6 separate regions of the Homo sapiens genome follow, and regions 1, 2, 3, 4 and 6 are each linked to region 5. The links are contacts of gene promoters, found by promoter capture Hi-C in blood cells and fetal thymus (Javierre and others, 2016). All regions are on one chromosome and are shown on one strand. Each heading gives the region's core, a stretch centred on a gene start or on the middle of the fragment in contact. The rest is flanking DNA. Distances are from core to core; before and after follow the strand shown.

Region 1 (2,780 bases), core at 6-2,505, 320 kb before region 5:
TGATCTGCTCACCTCAGCCTCCCAAAGTGCTGGGATTACAGGTGTGAGCCATCGTGCCTCACAATATACTTTCATTTCTCTTGGGAAGCCTCCTGGGGTAGAATCTTCCAGATGACCCAATCATATGGTACATTTCTGTTTCATTTTTTAAGAAACTGATAAACTGTTTTAAAAGTAGTACTCCATGTCTTGACCAGGGTGGGTGGTAGTTATACGGGGTCTCATTTTGTAAATTATTAGTTACATTAGATATTTATTCACTTTCTGTATTTCTTCTATTTTATAACTTTAAAAGAGTCAAGAAATAAATTGGGGGTGGGGTGGTGAGTGGAGTCAACTCTGGGAAGGTTTTTTGTAAGGGGTAGCAGTTAGGAATGCTGTTCTGGAAGCTGTATGGAGCACTGGAGGAGGAGCAACTGGGGAAACAAATCCTACAAGAATTTCACAGGAGGGGCTCCAAGACCCATCAGGTTCAGCCCCTGGGCAGGTATATGCAAAAGCACATGCCAATATATGCAAATAAGTTAGGATCTCCTGGGGTTTCCTCACCTTGGGGGTCTGTCTCTAATGGTTGTGACCAGGATGGTGGGCAGGCCCCAGGGCTTTGGGGTGCTGGCCTTGGGCACTCACAGCCTGGCTTTTCTGGGAGCCTGCAGTCCTGCAGGGGCTGAGGGTGGAGTATCATCTGCTAATCCCTGGCCTGCTGAGTCCACCACTCTCCCTGATCCCCTCACGCTTACCCTGGATACTGGCCACAGCTAATCTCCACTCCTGGAGACTCAAGGGCTGGCAGACAGTGCAGTGCCCTCTTCCCTGAGGGTTCCAGGGAGGGGAGATCCCTCTCAGCATCCAGATCCTCCTAACGGCAGATCCTAGAGTCCTTGCCTAACACAGAGGAGAGCCTTGAGTCCCAGAGAGAGGCGGTAATTAGCCCAGGATTACACAGCCTGCAGTGGGCTCAGTAGCCATTTCTGGCCTGCCTTGGCCTGACTACCTCCAGGGAACCCCAGCTCCCCATCTGACATTTCCCAAGATGCCTGGCCTGTGCTAAGGCCTGGGAGACCACAGCCTTCAGGAAGGCTGGAAGGGAGTGGCCAGAGCACAGGAATTCTGGCACAGGCTCTTGTTAGAGCCTGTAGTTGCCAGGGTTGCTAAGGAGTGGGTGCCTCAGAATCAGGCTGCAATGGGCATTGTCTGTGCACAATGTTCCTTTATTCTGCTGCTGTCCATAATAAGGGCTCGTCCACCTCCCTTCCTCTTCTGCCCATTGAGCAGTCAAAGAACTGAAAGTCCTTATAAGCCTGTGCACCTGGGCCTGGGCCCTACAGATAAGGTAGCTGCTATTGGTGAGTCAGAAGCAGGGAGCCCTTGCTCTCTTCCCCATATCCGTGATCCCCCTCCCTGTCCCTCCCCAGGCAGTCACATCCCCTAAGGCAGCTTCCCCATGCCTTGTCACCATGCCCCCTCCCTGCTCCTCCATGATCTAAGGTCCTCTCTCCTCCTGCCACCCTAGCTTCCACCTCCACCTCTCACCTCTAACTCAGGGTCAGGAAGAAAGCAAGCTGTCTCAACAAATTCTCACTAAAGTGTAAATGACTGAAAGGCTCCTGGGACTATCTGCTTTTTAAAGGGAGGCACTGGGTATCCAGTAATGCTTTTCTAGTTTAAATATATCATGTTGCTCCCCTTCCTGAAAATCTTTCTGAGTCAATCTGTAGAATTTTGGGTAAATAGCTAGGGCAAGTCCATAATTATTCACCCAGAGGTATACGGCATACTAAGCTACATTCTGAACCCGCTTGCTGCTGCACTTTCCTGCTTATTATTTAAGAATAGACTCGCCAGGCAAGGTGGCTCACACCTGTAATCCCAGCACTTTGAGAGGCTGAGGCGGGTGGATCACTTGAGGTCAGGAGTTCGAGACCAGCCTGGCCAACACAGTGAAACCCCGTCTCTACTAAAAATACAAAAACTAGTCACATGTGGTGGTGGATGCCTATAATCCCAGTTCCTCAGGAGGCTGAGGCAGGAGAATCACTTGAACCCAGGAGACAGAGGTTGCATTGAGCCAAGATGGCGCCACTGTACTTCAGTCTGAGCAGAAGAGTGAGACTGTCTCAAAAAAAAAAAAAAAAAGAAAAGAAAGAAAGAAAAAAAAACGAATAGACTCAAATACCACCTCTTTTAGACCATTCCTTGAATGTCCTAACCCCAGCCTCCCCAGAAACACACACTCTGTACTGACCTCCCTCACAGCCATGGCACAATGTGAGTGTGTGTGTGTGTGTGTGTGTGTGTATGTGTGTGTTGGAAGGGGAGTGGGAGGGTTGTCTCTGTTATCTTCTGTTATCTGAATGTTCCTGCCACCTCATGCTGAGCTCCAGAAAAATGGCCTGGCACACAGTAGGTGCTAAATAAATGTTTGGCAAGTAGACATCGGCACTGGCCAAGGTTGTTTTCATGCAGAGAAGGGTGTCTGGCCAGCATGAGCCCAGGGTGAGCCCCTTAGAACCCTCTGCCCCCCAGCTATGGCCCGCATCATTGACCTGGTGCCCTGGGACGATGGCTCCACACATGTGTATGCCTCCCCGGCCATCCTGCTTCCCATGGAGCGGCAGCGCAACCAGCTGGCGGGCGTGAAGCAGCAGCTCTACCACCCAGCCCTGCCCACCCTGCGCCACATGGACAGGGACACCGTCAAGGCCTGCCTTCCTGATGAGCACTGCCAGTCCACCACCTACTGCCGCAAAGGTTAGGACACCAGTGTAGGATCCCCTTTG
Region 2 (2,700 bases), core at 120-2,619, 420 kb before region 5:
CCTTCTGACTAGCTGGGACTATAGGCATGTGCCACCACCCCTGGCTAATTTTTATTATATATATATATTTGGTGGAGTCGGGTTTTCGCCATGTTACCTAGACTGGTATTGAACTCCTGGGCTCAAGTGATCCTGCTGCCTCAGCCTCTCAAAGTGCTGTGGTTACAGGTGTGAGCCAGCGCACCTGGCCCTGATTTTAAAACTTATTACTTACATTTGACTTATATGTGGAAGTTTTCCATGGTATCTGAATTATTCTTTTGAACCTGCCTGGAAACACTTCACGTGACCCTCTCCTCTACCCACTTTTCATTAAGGAACACTTGATTTCAGAAATTTGGAAATGCGGCTGGGTGCGGTGGATCATTTGAGGTCAGGAGTTCAAGACCAGCCTAGCCAGCATGGTGAAACACTGTCTCCACTAAAAATACAAAGATTAGCCGGGCGGTAGTGGCGCGCACCTGTATTTCTAGACACTCTGGAGGCGGAGGCAGGAGAATTGCTTTAGTCTGGGAGGCGGAGGTTGCGGTGAGCCAAGATTGCACCACTGCACTCAAGCCTGGGCGACAGAGCGAGACTCTGTCAAAAAAAAAAAAAAAAAAAAAAAGAAAAGAAAAAAGAAAGGAAGGAAGGAAGGAAAGAAAAGGAAGAAATTTGGAAATGTGAAAGGTGGGGACCCAGTCTCCCGAGACTCTTGATAATGCGCTCTGGAGCCATTTGTCTAGTTAACTGCCTTGATTAGAAAGGATCCTAAAGCTTCTCTCACCTCCCTCCGGGAGACGGCCAAATGGCCACAGCCGAGCCTAGGTCTCTTGGCTAGCTCCAAAATGCCGGGAAGACTCCGGCGCTATCTCCCTAGGTATTTATATGTCAAAGGGAGAAAGTCCCAGAACTTGAAGACCCCTCCAGGTGGTTAAAGCTGAGACACCTGGGGCTATCTCGTTCCGGGTGAGGCTTTATTTACATATCAAAGGGCTGGGGTTAGGTTTCGGGCCCATTAAGTTTCCAAGGAGACCCTTTCAAAAAGGGAGGGGAATAGCTACCTCCTTCGCCTTTATAAGCAGAGAAAACTTGTCCTTCATCTATGGAGTGTCAGGCTACTTGCACGGGACATTTCCTGGCCAGGAGTAAGGCTTAAGGGGAGGCTGGGAGCGGAGGCTATGTACTTATTATTTGCTAAAAGGTAATTAATATAAAATCTGTCTCTGATCCCAAACACCTGTGTGTGTGCATTCAGGATAAAATTAATAAAGATAAATATTAAAAAACCACTGGCAGGCCAGACGTGGTGGCTCACATCTGTAATCTCAACACTTTGGGAGGCCAAGATGAAAGGATTGTTTGAGTTAGGGAGTTCGAGACCAGCCTGGGCAACATAGGGAGACCCCCGACTTGTCCCCACCACCCCCTATCCCCCGTCTCTACAAATAGTTAAAAAAAAATAGCCAGGTGTGGAGGTGCATGTCTGTGGCAGGAGGATCACCTGAGTCCTGGAGGTCGAGGCTGCAGTGAGCTGTGATTGAACCACTGTACTCCAGCGTGGGTGACAGAGCAAGACCCTGTCTCAAAAACAAGAACAATGAAACACTGACAGGACAGGCTGGACGTGGTCGTACATGCCTGTAATCCCAGCAAGGAGGCAGAAGGATTGCTTGAGGCATGGAGTTCTAGACCAGTCTGGGCAACATAATGATACCCCATCTCTATAAAAAACAAAAACCACTAACAGCAGCCTGGGGTGGGTGCTTTCCCTCTTCCTCCACCAATCATGATTGGCTCTGGAGAAGGGGCATGCCAGGATGGCTCTGGCCCAAGGTTGGCCCTAGAGGGTGCAGCCCCAATTGCTCTGGGCAGGAGAGACACTCATCCTCACCTTGCAGAATTGCCAGATAAAAACACAGGGCACCAAGTTGAATTTGAATTTTGGATAAATAACAATTTTTTTTAGCATAAGTATATCCCAAGTATTGCATGAGATATACTTAAGCTTAAAAAAAAAAACCTTCATTGTTTATCTGAAATTCAAATTTACCTGGGCTTTCTGTATTTTTACTTGCTAAATCTGGAACTCAACCATGGTGACCAGGGAAGAGGACCCCCTGGAGATGCCAACACCTTATGCCCATTGAAAGAATAATACAAGGGCTAGGAGCAATGGCTGACGCCTGTAATCCCAGTACTTTGGGAGCCCAAGGTGGCAGGATCACTTGAGGTCAGGAGTTCGAAACCAGCCTGGCCATCATGGTGAAACCGCATCTCTACCAAAAATACAAAAATTAGCCGGAAATCACTTGAACTCGGGAGGCAGAGGTTGTAGTAAGCTGAGATCACGCCATTGCACTCCAGCCTGGGCAACAGAACAATACTCCATCTCAAAAAATAAATAAATTAAATAAGGGCACTCAGGCCGTCTTTCTTTTCATTTCAGAAGAGATATCGAAGGAGATAGTGCTCAGGAAATTGAATCTAGGAAATGTTACTCACAATTTTTTGGTTACAATGAGTTTATCAAGCATCCTTTGAATCTTCTTCCTTTTTTTTTCTTTTTTTTTTAACAGAGTCTTGCTCTGTCACCCAGGCTGGAGTAGTACAGTGGTGTGATCTCGGCTCACCACAACCTCCACCTCTCGGGTTCAAGCAATTCTCCTGCCTCAGCCTCCCGAGCATCTGGGACCACACACGCGTGCCACCACGCCCGGC
Region 3 (2,700 bases), core at 134-2,633, 290 kb before region 5:
TGAATCTCATAGTGTCAAGGCCTGCAGGAAAATGTAAGAAACTGCCCTGGTCTGCCTTGGCAATGCAGGATGCAGCATGCTAACCACAGAGCATTTCTCATCACCTCTCTAGAGACAACTCCATTCCCTTACTCCAAGCCTATAAAGTTCTGGGTAATTGTTGGAAGGTAAAGCCCACCCAGCCCAGGCAAATCTCTAACTCACCACTTTGTGGCAGCATGAGGTAATGCCAGCGAGAGGGAGGAACTTTCAGAGTCAGATGCAACCCACTTCCAGGTTCCCAGCTCATCTGCCTCTTACATTTAAAAGTTTGTAAGTTTTCTCCTGAGCAGAGGAAGAAGGAAGGAGAAGCCTTCACAGGACAGTCTGGCCTCTAACTGCTCTGCCAAAGAAATGTAAGAGTCAGGCTAAAAGCTGTCATCCTCAGCATCTTCCGGAAGGGAGGGAGGAGAGGAGCGGCTGCTCTGGGTGGAGGCAGCAGGTTGCTTGAGCAAGCAGGTACCACTCTAAGCCTTCTCGGGACAGAGAGGGGGAAGGTGGGCTTCTCTGAGCGCCTGTAGGTCCGCTGTGCCAACCCACTGTTTTGTTTGCTTTTTCTGGCATGAATGGCTGTCAGACAGTGTCCCCTGGCTTGGTCTGCAGCACCCCCTGCCCACCCTGGCCCTCCTGCAGCAAGGTGCAGCCAGGAAGCCTCTGTGATCACTCCGCAAAGGGGAGAGAGGAGGCAAGGAGAGGCAGGGGAGGCCCCCCACCTGCGCCCCACCCCGTCTCTTCTTCCTCCCTGAGAAACCGAATGAAAGCCGATCACCTCCCGCCGGCCCTGCCTGCAGGCCCAGCTGGGCTGCGTCCTGTCAGCCCTCGTCCGGGATGGCCCGGCCGCTGCGACCCGAGGGCGAGCCCCGAGGGCGGCCGGGCTGGAGAAAGGCCCCAGGGCTACAGGCCGGGCCCAGGAAGCGGCTGCGCCTCGAGGCCCGGCCTGGGCCGCCCAGAAGCTCAAGAGGCCGCTAGGTCGCGGCGGAGGGGCGCGGGGGGGCGGCCGGGCCGGCAGAGGAAGGGGTGCGGCGGGCGCGGGGGTGGCCCCCAGATGCGGCCCCGGGCGCCCCGCCGCTCACCTGCTCCAGGCCGCCTGCAGGGCAGGCGCGGGGCGAGCGGCGACCAGCTGCTCTCTCGGCCGCCCCTTTATTCCGGCTCCATCCGCGGCGGCGCGGCCTACGCGCGCTGCCAATCCCCGGCCTCGCGTAGCGGCTGCGGCCGGACCGGGGGCGGGGGACGGGCTAGCGGCGGCCGGAACGGAGGAAGCGACGCGCGCTGCCGGAGTAGCGGGGCCGGGGCGAGGAGCGCCGGGAGGGCGGGCGGACGGACCGATGGCCTTGCGGAGACGGGCGGACGGGCGGGCGGCGCGGGGGCCAGGGAGGCGGGGCCGGGGGAGGAGCGGCATCCCGGGCGGCGGCGGCCAATGCGGGAGGAGCGGGCGGCGCGGAGCGAGGCCGCCCCCTGCCGGGGACCCCGTGGCCGGGCCAGGTCGGACAAGCCGGGTGCTCCGGGCGGTTTTCGAGTCGCCAGGCCTGGGCGCCTCGACTAACCGAGGAAGGGCGCTCTGCTTCCGGCCACCCCGCTCGGGCTTAGGGGAGGGGGCTCCGGGTGACCGCCCTCGGCCCGGCTCTGCGCAGGAGAGGAGGGGCCTCCTAGAGGCTCTGGTCTGCCACAATTGATCCGCCCCTAACTGCTCAGCTTGGCTTTTAGGGGCTTGGACTTTGGGCTGGTTTGAGGAGGGGGCTCCAGGACCTCTGATCCTGGCCGGGCTCGGGGCAGGCAGGGGTCTCCGCTGGGTCTAGTGCGCTGACCCGGGACTGTCGTGTCTGGTATGTCTGGTCCCGGGTGGCTGCAGACAGCAGCGGGCAGAAAGGTGAGGGCCCTGAGCGATATATGAAATGGGTACACGAAGGCTGGGGAGGTCCCAGCGGGGTGCCGGGAGGCTGCAGGTGACCAGATCCGCGTGCGCAGCCGGCAGACAGCTTGGAGTCGGTGGGCTGAATCTTCACCACTGTCCTGCCGGGTTCCGCCCCTCCCGGCTCCGCCCCGAGGCGGTGCCAGCCCAGGCCCCGCCCCTGGGAGGGCGCTTCCGGCACAGCGGAACTCCGGGTGCCGGTTGAGGTTGCTGGTGGACCTGCTCTGGTGGTCTTGGATGAGGCCCCATGAGCGCGGCGCCCCTGGTGGGCTACAGCAGCAGCGGCTCCGAGGATGAGTCCGAGGACGGGATGCGGACCAGGCCGGGGGATGGGAGCCACCGTCGGTGAGGAGTGAGGAAGTCTCTCCGGAGGGCGCGCGCATTCACCCTAGAGCCAGACGGGACCCGAATGTCTGGGGGTGGAGTGGGGAGGGAGGATGCGGGGCGGCTCTGGGAAGGAAAAGGGGACGCAGGAAGAAAGGAGGATCCAGAAGATATACCCCTCCCCCCCACCCCAGACAAAGCTCCAGAGTGGCCCCACCTGGCTAGGGCCAAGTTGGGAGGCCAGACCTGGGTTCGGGTCCAGCCTCGCGCTGGCCCACTCTATCGCCTGGCACACATCCCTGTACCATCCTAGGTCCGTTTCCTGATTTGAATACAATTGCGATAGTAATACTTGCTAAAGCGTAGGGAGAGCCTTTTCATTCATCCAGTAAATATTCACTGAGCACCCACTCCCTGCCAGGCTGGGG
Region 4 (2,700 bases), core at 83-2,582, 480 kb after region 5:
GTGGCACACACTTATAGGCAAGGAGGGGATTGACAGCAACCCTTTTTGGAAAGTATCTCCCACAGATACAAATAAATAAACCATAACTAAAATTTAGTGAGCACTTCTGTGTCAGACAGCAGGCCAAGTACCTGACATGTATTATCTCATGAAATCCTCATACATGAAGTTCCCATATCCAGTGAAGTAGGAATCATTCTTATTCCCATCTTATAAGCAAGTGGAAGATGGCAGAGATTAAATAAATAACCCCAGGTCAAATACCTGATCAATGATGATGCCAGGATTCAAGTCCCTTGGAGTTGGATTTGTTGTACTCTGAGAGGGAGCTGAGTGCACTGGTTAAGAACTCAGTCCTGTAGGTCGTCATACTGTAGTAAATGCTATGAGAGAGGGTTCAGAGAATAAAGATCTCTTCTATTTGGGGGTTCAGAAAAGTCTTCAGGAAAGGTGCCATTTGAGTTGCATGTTGATGTTTAGGAACAATTTAGACCTGAACAAATTTGGGAATTAAGGATTTCTCGTAGGCAGAAAACATCATAATATATATGTGGGAAGAGGAAGCAGAGGCATGCACTGAGACTAGCAATCAGTTCAGCTTGGGTGGCCTCTAGAATTCAAGGAAGGAGACAGCAAGAGCTGTTGGAGATGGGAAGTTTGGGGTCAGATTATGAAAATAGTTGAATACCAGGCTGAGATATTTGGGCCTTTATTTAGTGGAAACTAGGGAGACATTTAGTGTTTTGGAACAAGAGCTTTATTTTTAAAGGTTAAAATCCCTGGCCGGGTGCAGTGGCTCACGCATGTAATCCCAGCATTTTGGGAGGTTGAGGTAGGCAGGTCAGGAGTTCGAGACCAGCTTGGCCACTATAGTGAAACCCCATCTCTACTAAAAATACAAAAATTAGCCGGGCATGGTGGCATGCACCTGTAGTCCCAGCTACTCAGGAGGCTGAGGCAGGAGAATCGCTTGAAACCAGAAGGCAGAGGTTGCAGTGAGCTGAGCTCGTGCTGCTGCACTCCAGCCTGGGCAACAGAGCGAGACTCCATCTCAAAAAAAAAAAAAAAAAATCACAGGGTAGACCTGAAACACTGAAATGGAGATACTGGAGGCAGGATGAACAAAGCGAAATGCTTTTTCAATGTCAGTTGAGAGGGAAACTTTATACTGACCATCCATTGGAGTGGTGAAGAGATACGGAATAGTAGAGATATTGAAGAGTTTGGTAGTTGAGGAAGGAGTCAAAAATAGATCTAGAATATCCAGCCTGAGTAACCAAAAGAATAGAGATGGGGCAGACTTGGAGAACATATAATTATTTAAATTTGAGGGCTACAGAATTGACTTCAAACAGCGCTGTTGACCTTGCGGGGGGCCAAGGTGGACTTCTGGGAGTTGGTCCAAAGGTGAGAGCCATTTATAATGAAGAAACATGACACTTTTCCTTTTAATTAATTTTGCAAGATATTGCAGACCAGTGACCTGGTTTTCTCCTTTTCTCTTCATTACTCTCAATTATTTCCAAAATTAGTCAGATGCAGTGGCCCACACTTGTAGTCTTAGCTACTCAGGAGATAGAGGTGAGAGGATTACTTGAGCCCAAAAGTTCTGGGCTGTAGTGCGCTATGCCCATGGGTGTCCATGCTAAGTTCAGTGTCAGTATGATGACTCTTGGGAGCTGGAGACTGCCAGGCTGCCTAAGGAGGGGTGAACTGGCCCAGGTCAGTAATAGAGCAGGTCAAAACTCCCGTGCTGCTCAGCAGTGAGATCATGCCTGTGAATAGCCACTGCACTCCAGCCTGGGCAACATAATGAGACCCCATCTCTTAAAACAAACAAGCAAACAAACCTCAAAGTAACCCAAACCCAGTGATGTTTCTGGCCTGCTCCATTGGCTTTTACTATCCTCCACCCACATCCCTCTGCCTGCTACCCTCACATCAACATCATAAGAGGTACTGCCTTGTATCAGGGCAATTGGTGCTCAATGGGGCACTATGACTTGATCATCTGCTTTACATGTAAAGAAAGTGAGATAGAGAAAAGTTAAATGACCAGCACAACGTAAAACCAGGATATGTGTGTTGACCTGAGTCCGTGCAGGAGGGAGGGCATTTATGACCTTTATTCACAGGGTATGGGATGGTGGAAGGCCAAGTCATGGTCGGATGAAACAAATAGGTAGGGGAGGGATGAGTATTGCTTTGTGACCTGGCAGCATCAGCACTAATCCTGGGATAAGTAGAGCTGTGAACCGCTGACTCAGTTTCCTTTGCAGAGGCTCAAAAATGCAAGGTATTTACTTGATAAGAGCCCTAATAGGTTCAGGACAGAAGATTCTGTAATGGTGCTGTGATTAAGGACTTTCATTCTGATTAGAATTACACTCTAGCAAATGAGTGTGAACTGTCGGAACTTAAGTAGCTGCTCAACAGAATGAATGCAGTCATTTCTGAAGTGGCTTGTTAACTTATTATTTCCTACCATTCTGCCTCATTACCGACACTCACCCTCATCGTTCATCAAGATTGGTAGCCCCTTGAGGAGGAGAAGAGGAGTGGGAGATGGTATAAGTTGTCTGTACCAGGTCCCATGCTGAAGGGAAAGGGCCCACATAGGAGCAGGTTTCCAAGAGCTTCTACAATTGTTAAGGACCTCCTAGGTGAAGCTATTGTTACCTGCGTGCATATGCTAAAACA
Region 5 (2,700 bases), core at 67-2,566:
AGGGAGGAAAGCAGCACACTCACTGGTGGAAGAATAGAGAAGGCCGAGCAGCACCAGGAGCACCCCTCGCATCTTGCCATCCCCAGAGAGACCCGCCGCGGACACCATGGGCAGCTGGGGAAACAAAACCCAATGACTCCATCCTCTTCCCAAACACATGCAGGGTTTTCTATGCCTCTTTTTTCCATCCTCTTCCCAAACACACATGTTCCCTCCCAAACATCAGAGGCTCCCCCTCTTTCTACTAACAAAGGTTCCAAGATGTAGGGCACTGACCTGTCTTATCCCTAGTGCTTGGTTCTGTGTGGTAAAGAGGCAGGACCAGTTGGCCCGCACTGTGGTTTGTGAGATGGCCAGAGAAGAGAGGGCAGCTTACTCTTGTCAGTTTTCTTCTCAATCCAGCCCAAGCCCCTGAGCACCCCAGAGAGTTGGGTCTCTGAAAAGGGCTGCTTTTTGACTCGTGGAATTCAACCCTTGCCTTAACTCTGTAGCCATAAAATGCTGCTGAAAGAAAAGTAGAGTTTTAGTGGAAGCCCACCCTGGGATTAATGCCTCTGCTGTGGTTTTACCCTTCTAAACTCTGCTGGCTAAAAGAACGCTAGGGCTTCTGTTAACTGTTAACAGCCTGTTTTTTTGTTTTTTATTTTATTTTATTTTTTTTGAGACTGAGTCTCGCTCCCTTGGCAGGCTGGAGTGCAGTGGCACGAGCTTGGCTCACTGCAACCTCTGCCTCCCAGGTTCAAGCGATTTTCCTGCCTCAGCTTCCTGAGTAGCTGGGACTACAGATGTGCGCCACCACGCCCAGCTAATTTTTGTATTATTTTGTAATATTTTGTAATATTTGTATTTTTAGTACAGATGGGGTTTCGTCACGTTGGCCAGGCTGGTCTCGAACTCCTGACCTCAGGTGATCCACCCGCCTCAGTCTCCCAAAGTGCTGGGATTACCAGCGTGAGCCACCGTGCCCGGCCAATAGCCTGTATCTTTACATAGGAACAGCCCCAGCATTTAGCTTAGTTCATTTGCAAAACCGCGGTAGGAAGTAGACACTCGAGTTATCGCCATTTTACAGATTCAGAAACTGATACTCAGAGACATCAACTAGCCAGTCCAAGGTCACACAGCTGTCAAGCAATGCACAGAAGCCCAAGGAACCCATGTGCACAGTTCTAAGTCACCATGTTCCACTCATGACACTGGATGCCTCTTGTCCTCAGAATGGTCCTCAGAGTTCGTCCATGAACTGTTCCTGCTCAAGGAGAAATGAACTCAGGCTGGCCTGACACAGTAGAGTTCAACAGAAGGATTTCTTCTACTGCCTTGGGAAGAATGTTCCATTGTGGCATCACGGTTACCATGGCACCACCAAGCAACTGTCTGGACATGGGGACTTACGAGGAGCTAGGATGAAAGGCCTCCTTGTTGCTTAGCCTTGGCAGGGCTCTTCTGGAAGCCAGGCTCTCTCCTAGTCTGAGAAGGCAAGCTTTTTGCTGGATTACAAAGTCTTCTCTGGTCGTGGCCACGGTCTGTCTACCCCACTCAGCGCCCGCCCTGTGTCCACACATGCTTGTCAGACTGGACTGAGGAAGCCCACAACTGGGGTGGGTTTGGAATTTCCAGTCCCCGTCAGCATCTTACACTCCCAGGGTGGTTTCTTTCAGACTTAGCCCAGTTTTCTTTAGCCTCTCAGTTTCCGGGTCCAATCTAAGCTACCAGACCAGCTCTGCCAAACCAGAGGCCCAGATGGGATCTGCCACTCCAGCCACTGTGAGCAGCTTTGGTTTCAGCCCAAATGCCAGGACTCGAGAAGTGTCGACAAGGTTGAGGTAAGATGTTAATTCCACGGAGCCACAGGGGGAGGGTGGGCGCACAGGCCTCTGGTGCAGACGCTCAGAAGATCCTTACTGGATGGGTAGATGAATGGCTGATGGAAGGCAGGAAGGCTGGTGAGAAAGTGGAAACTGGCTGGGCACGGTGGCTCACGCCTATAATCCCAGCACTTTGCGAAGCCGAGGCAGGCAAATTGCTTGAGCTCAGGAGTTTGAGGCCAGACTGGGTAACATGGTGAGACCCTGTCTTTTACCAAAAATACAAAAATTTAGCCAGGCGTGGTGGCACACACCTATAGTCCCAGGTACTCGGGAAGCTGAGGTGGAGGTTGCAGTGAGCTGAGATCGCACCACTGCACTACAGCTTGGGCGACAGAGTGACAGCCTGTCTCAAAATAATAATAATAATAATAAAGTGAGGCCTGAGTCCAAAGGGAGCCGCTACCTCCTTCCCCCATGGTTCCCCTGATGTCCTGCCGGCTTCACCACCCTCCCTCACCTTTAACCCTGGGCAGGGGGGCGGGGGTATTGGCTTCTGCTACAAGAACAGAAAATTTTTGGCAGTGGGAGAAGTGCGAGTTGATTCTTTAATTTGTTCCACATCACAGGTATCAAAAAGCTGTATTTTAAATTTTTATTTTTTATTGTTTTTAGAGACAAGTTCTTGCTCTGTTGTCCAGGCTAGAGTACAGTGGTGCAATCACAGCTCACTGCAGCCTCGAACTCCTGGGCTCAAGTGATCCTCCAGCCTCAGCCTCCCAAGTAGCTGGAACTACAGGCCTGTGCCACCAAGTCTGGCTAATTTTTCATATTATATTTTTTTGAAGAGATGGGGTCTCACTGTGTTGCCCACGCTGGTCTCGAACTCTTG
Region 6 (2,714 bases), core at 200-2,699, 390 kb after region 5:
CTTCCCATTGCTCCTCCTGATGATGGACAAACAAAGCTGGGGACCATCCACTCATGAGAGGGAAAGGGTGAAAGTTCATGTGCTCTCAGCCATCTGTTATCAAGCATGGAACCAAGGGACATGGCACCAGAGGAAACATTCCTCTGCTGGCTCGAAACCCAGAAAGATCTGTCAGATGTCACAGGGCTTACACATCCTCTTACACATCCTGTCACCCAACCAGCAACTCAGCAAAATCAAAGCAGTGAGCAGCGAAGGCAGAGTCTTGGGACTCCCAGGCTTCCAGTGTAGCTAGAGAAAGAACCCTGCAAAGTGACCACTGCCAGAGCTGTGACCATCTCCTCCCCGCTGCTCACGTCACAGAGACAGAGGTCTACAGAGTGATTCGTCCAAGGTCACAAGGCTTGGTGCGGCTTCCTGACTCTCCAACCAAAATGTTTCCCTTGGGCACCCCTGCCCGAGTCCTGCACCATCCTCCAGCCTCTCCTGCCACCCACATGAGAGTGCAGGCTGGGGTCCTCGTGGAACTCAGAAGCTGGGGGTCCCACCTCTTGCAGATTCTCTGCCTTGGTTAAGACCTCTCGGCACCCCCACTGCTCACTGGCAAATTACTCAGCTCATTGTTGCACCTTACCTGCTCTTTCTCCCTGATGGGCTGTGCCAGAGGCGGTTGCTCCTTCTCCCCAAAGGTCTGGGATCTGATTCTCCTCACTTCCCTTTCTGGACCCAATTTCTTCTTTCTCAAGACTTTGCCTAAAATTTGCTGTCAGCAGAGGGAAGAGTTTGGGCTACTTCTGTGCTGGCTTCAGCAGAGCTGGAGGAAACTGAGCGGCTCTCACGCTTACTCATGAAATGGAGCTTCAGGACAGATAGGAAAACAGGCCCAGGAGGGAGAGGTTAGACTAAGGTCACAGTGGGTAGCTGGCAGAGCCAGAATAGAAGCCTGATGCCCACATGCTCAGGCCAGCGATGTAGGCCCCTCAGATCCCAACTGGAGTGTGCTCCCAGTCCAGCCTGGGGTTGGAGCCCTGAGATAGAAAGGGTGGGCTGCTTTGTGAGGTGAGGCTTTGTGAGGTGAGCCAGGGCGCACCCGGGCCAGGAGGCCGGGGCGGGGCGATTCCCAGGCCTGGAGCGAGAAGGGTGGGCTACTGTGGGGTAACCTGGGGAGGAGCTCCGGGACCCGATCCCGGCCTAGGACTGGGTGGAGACCCTCTGGCTGGGTAAAGGCGCGGCAGAGCTGGCGCAACAGAGGGACGGGCGTGGGGCGAGGACGCCAGGATCTGGACCCCTGCAGGGAAAGGGTCTGAGCTTTTCCGCGGTGGCGGGGACTGAGGGGCTCCACAGACCTCGGGGATCTAACACTTCCACCCTCCAGAGCCTGTCTCCGGCCACCTACCTTGGGGGATTCTTTCCCGAGCCGGCTGCGGAGACACGTGAGCATGCATCACATGACGCCCGCTCGGGCGGCCGCGGGACACGCTGGGAGTTGTAGTTTCCGCAAATGTGAAGCTTGGACAACACCAGCTCCCTGAATCCTCAGCCCGACAGCACTGCCCTGAGCCAGCCTCGCGTCCAGCCAGCTCGTGTTTATCCTCTTACTTTTAGTCTTGGCCTCTTGACCAAATCAAACACTGCTCCTTCCTCCAAGGAAGAGCATTAGGAGGTCTGGCCTCTTTGCCAGTCCCGGTGGCGGTGGGCCAAAGCTGTTTGGCCTCATTATCCTCCCGGTCTCTGTCCTTGCCTTCACGCCCATGGCCAGAGCACTGGAGTTTTTTTTTAATCAGTAATGTGGGGGACCTGGAGCCACGGTCTTTCCTGCAAGGGAGTGGGCTGGGGGCATGGTTACGACCCCATCGGTTTAGACTCTAGAACAGTTTTTGAGGGATTGTAGGTGCTCAGTAAATATTTGTTGAATGACGAAATGGGCATCCAGTCCTGGTTCTGTTCTTGGCTGTGTGTCACTCATAAATTGTCACGTAATCTCCAGCATCCCAATAGCCTCATCTCTGTTTTGTGGATATGCTCTCCACTGCACTTACCTCTCCATGCATCAGAGGTCCTCACCGATGAGGACACACTGGGAATCCTTAGAAACCCAAATCACACCTTTTTTTTTTTTTTTTTTTTTTTTTTTTTTGAGACAGAGTCTCACTCTGTCTCCCCGGCTGGGGTGCAGTGGCACGATCTTTGCTCACTGCAACCTCTGCCTCCCGGGTTCATGTGATTCTCCTGCCTCAGCCTCCCGAGTACCTGGGATTACAGGCATGCACCACCACTCCCAGCTAATTTTTGTATTTTTAGTAGAGATGGGGTTTCGCCATGTTGGCCAGGTTGGTCTCAAACTCCTGACCTCAAGTGATCCACCCACCTCAGCCTCCCAAAGTGCTGGGATTACAGGCATGAGCCACCGTGCCTGGCCTCCAAAAAGTTTATATAAATTGAATCATACTGGTTGAGTGCGGTGGCTCACACCTGTAATCCCAGCACTTTGGGAGGCCAAGGCGGGCTGATCACTTGAGGTCAGGAGTTCGAGACCAGCCTGGCCAACATGGCGAAGTCCTGTCTCTATTAAAAATACAAAAATTAGCTGGGCATGGTGGTGCACGCCAGTAGTCCCAGCTACTCGGGAGCCTGAGGCAGGAGAATCACTTGAACCCGGGGGGCGGAGGTGGCGGTGAGCAGAGATCGTGCCACTGCACTCCAGCCTGGGAGAC

What was found. The method cuts DNA at HindIII sites, captures the fragments that hold promoters and counts their contacts. A CHiCAGO score of 5 or more calls a contact.
Region 1: the fragment with the promoter of SPMIP8 here is called in contact with the fragment with the promoter of PRSS54 in region 5 in 11 of 17 cell types (fetal thymus, naive CD8 T cells, total B cells and 8 more); the score reaches 14.5 in fetal thymus.
Region 2: a contact is called between a fragment that was not itself captured here and the fragment with the promoter of PRSS54 in region 5, in 2 of 17 cell types (naive CD8 T cells and total CD4 T cells). The highest score is 7.6, in naive CD8 T cells.
Region 3: a contact is called between the fragment with the promoter of ZNF319 here and the fragment with the promoter of PRSS54 in region 5, in 2 of 17 cell types (M2 macrophages and fetal thymus). The highest score is 6.3, in M2 macrophages.
Region 4: a fragment that was not itself captured here is called in contact with the fragment with the promoter of PRSS54 in region 5 in 1 of 17 cell types (total CD4 T cells); the score reaches 5.8 in total CD4 T cells.
Region 6: a contact is called between the fragment with the promoter of SLC38A7 here and the fragment with the promoter of PRSS54 in region 5, in 7 of 17 cell types (M0 macrophages, total B cells, M2 macrophages and 4 more). The highest score is 7.1, in M0 macrophages.

Annotation. Positions count from the first base shown.
Region 1 is chr16:57,975,289-57,978,068 of GRCh38, forward strand. SPMIP8 (sperm microtubule inner protein 8) reads left to right here and starts at 1,256. Exons shown (of 8, transcript NM_199456.3): 1 at 1,256-1,346; 2 at 2,527-2,751. The coding sequence starts at 2,529. The HindIII fragment of the contact is 9,202 bases long and covers 1-2,780 here.
Region 2 is chr16:57,872,487-57,875,186 of GRCh38, forward strand. No RefSeq gene overlaps it. Among named protein-coding and RNA genes, the nearest start is that of KIFC3, 71 kb to the left of the region's middle. RefSeq lists an enhancer at 648-1,175. The HindIII fragment of the contact is 1,231 bases long and covers 755-1,985 here.
Region 3 is chr16:57,999,289-58,001,988 of GRCh38, forward strand. ZNF319 (zinc finger protein 319) reads right to left here and starts at 1,384. Exons shown (of 2, transcript NM_020807.3): 1 at 205-1,384. It overlaps USB1 (U6 snRNA biogenesis phosphodiesterase 1), which reads left to right and starts at 2,119. Exons shown (of 7, transcript NM_024598.4): 1 at 2,119-2,293. The coding sequence starts at 2,196. RefSeq lists enhancers at 468-737, 1,595-1,764, 1,937-2,231, 2,258-2,357 and silencers at 858-987, 1,038-1,637, 1,928-2,177. The HindIII fragment of the contact is 9,268 bases long and covers 1-2,700 here.
Region 4 is chr16:58,768,993-58,771,692 of GRCh38, forward strand. The region is part of intron 2 of LOC107984867 (a long non-coding RNA gene); the gene reads left to right. It also overlaps the pseudogene RN7SL143P. Among named protein-coding and RNA genes, the nearest start is that of GOT2, 36 kb to the left of the region's middle. The HindIII fragment of the contact is 3,631 bases long and covers 1-2,700 here.
Region 5 is chr16:58,293,709-58,296,408 of GRCh38, forward strand. It overlaps PRSS54 (serine protease 54), which reads right to left and starts at 1,317. Exons shown (of 7, transcript NM_001305173.2): 1 at 1,179-1,317; 2 at 277-501; 3 at 24-114. The coding sequence starts at 108. The HindIII fragment of the contact is 4,073 bases long and covers 1-1,481 here.
Region 6 is chr16:58,683,321-58,686,034 of GRCh38, forward strand. It overlaps SLC38A7 (solute carrier family 38 member 7), which reads right to left and starts at 1,450. Exons shown (of 12, transcript NM_018231.3): 1 at 1,397-1,450; 2 at 635-858. RefSeq lists enhancers at 822-1,666, 1,177-1,236. The HindIII fragment of the contact is 5,837 bases long and covers 1-1,507 here.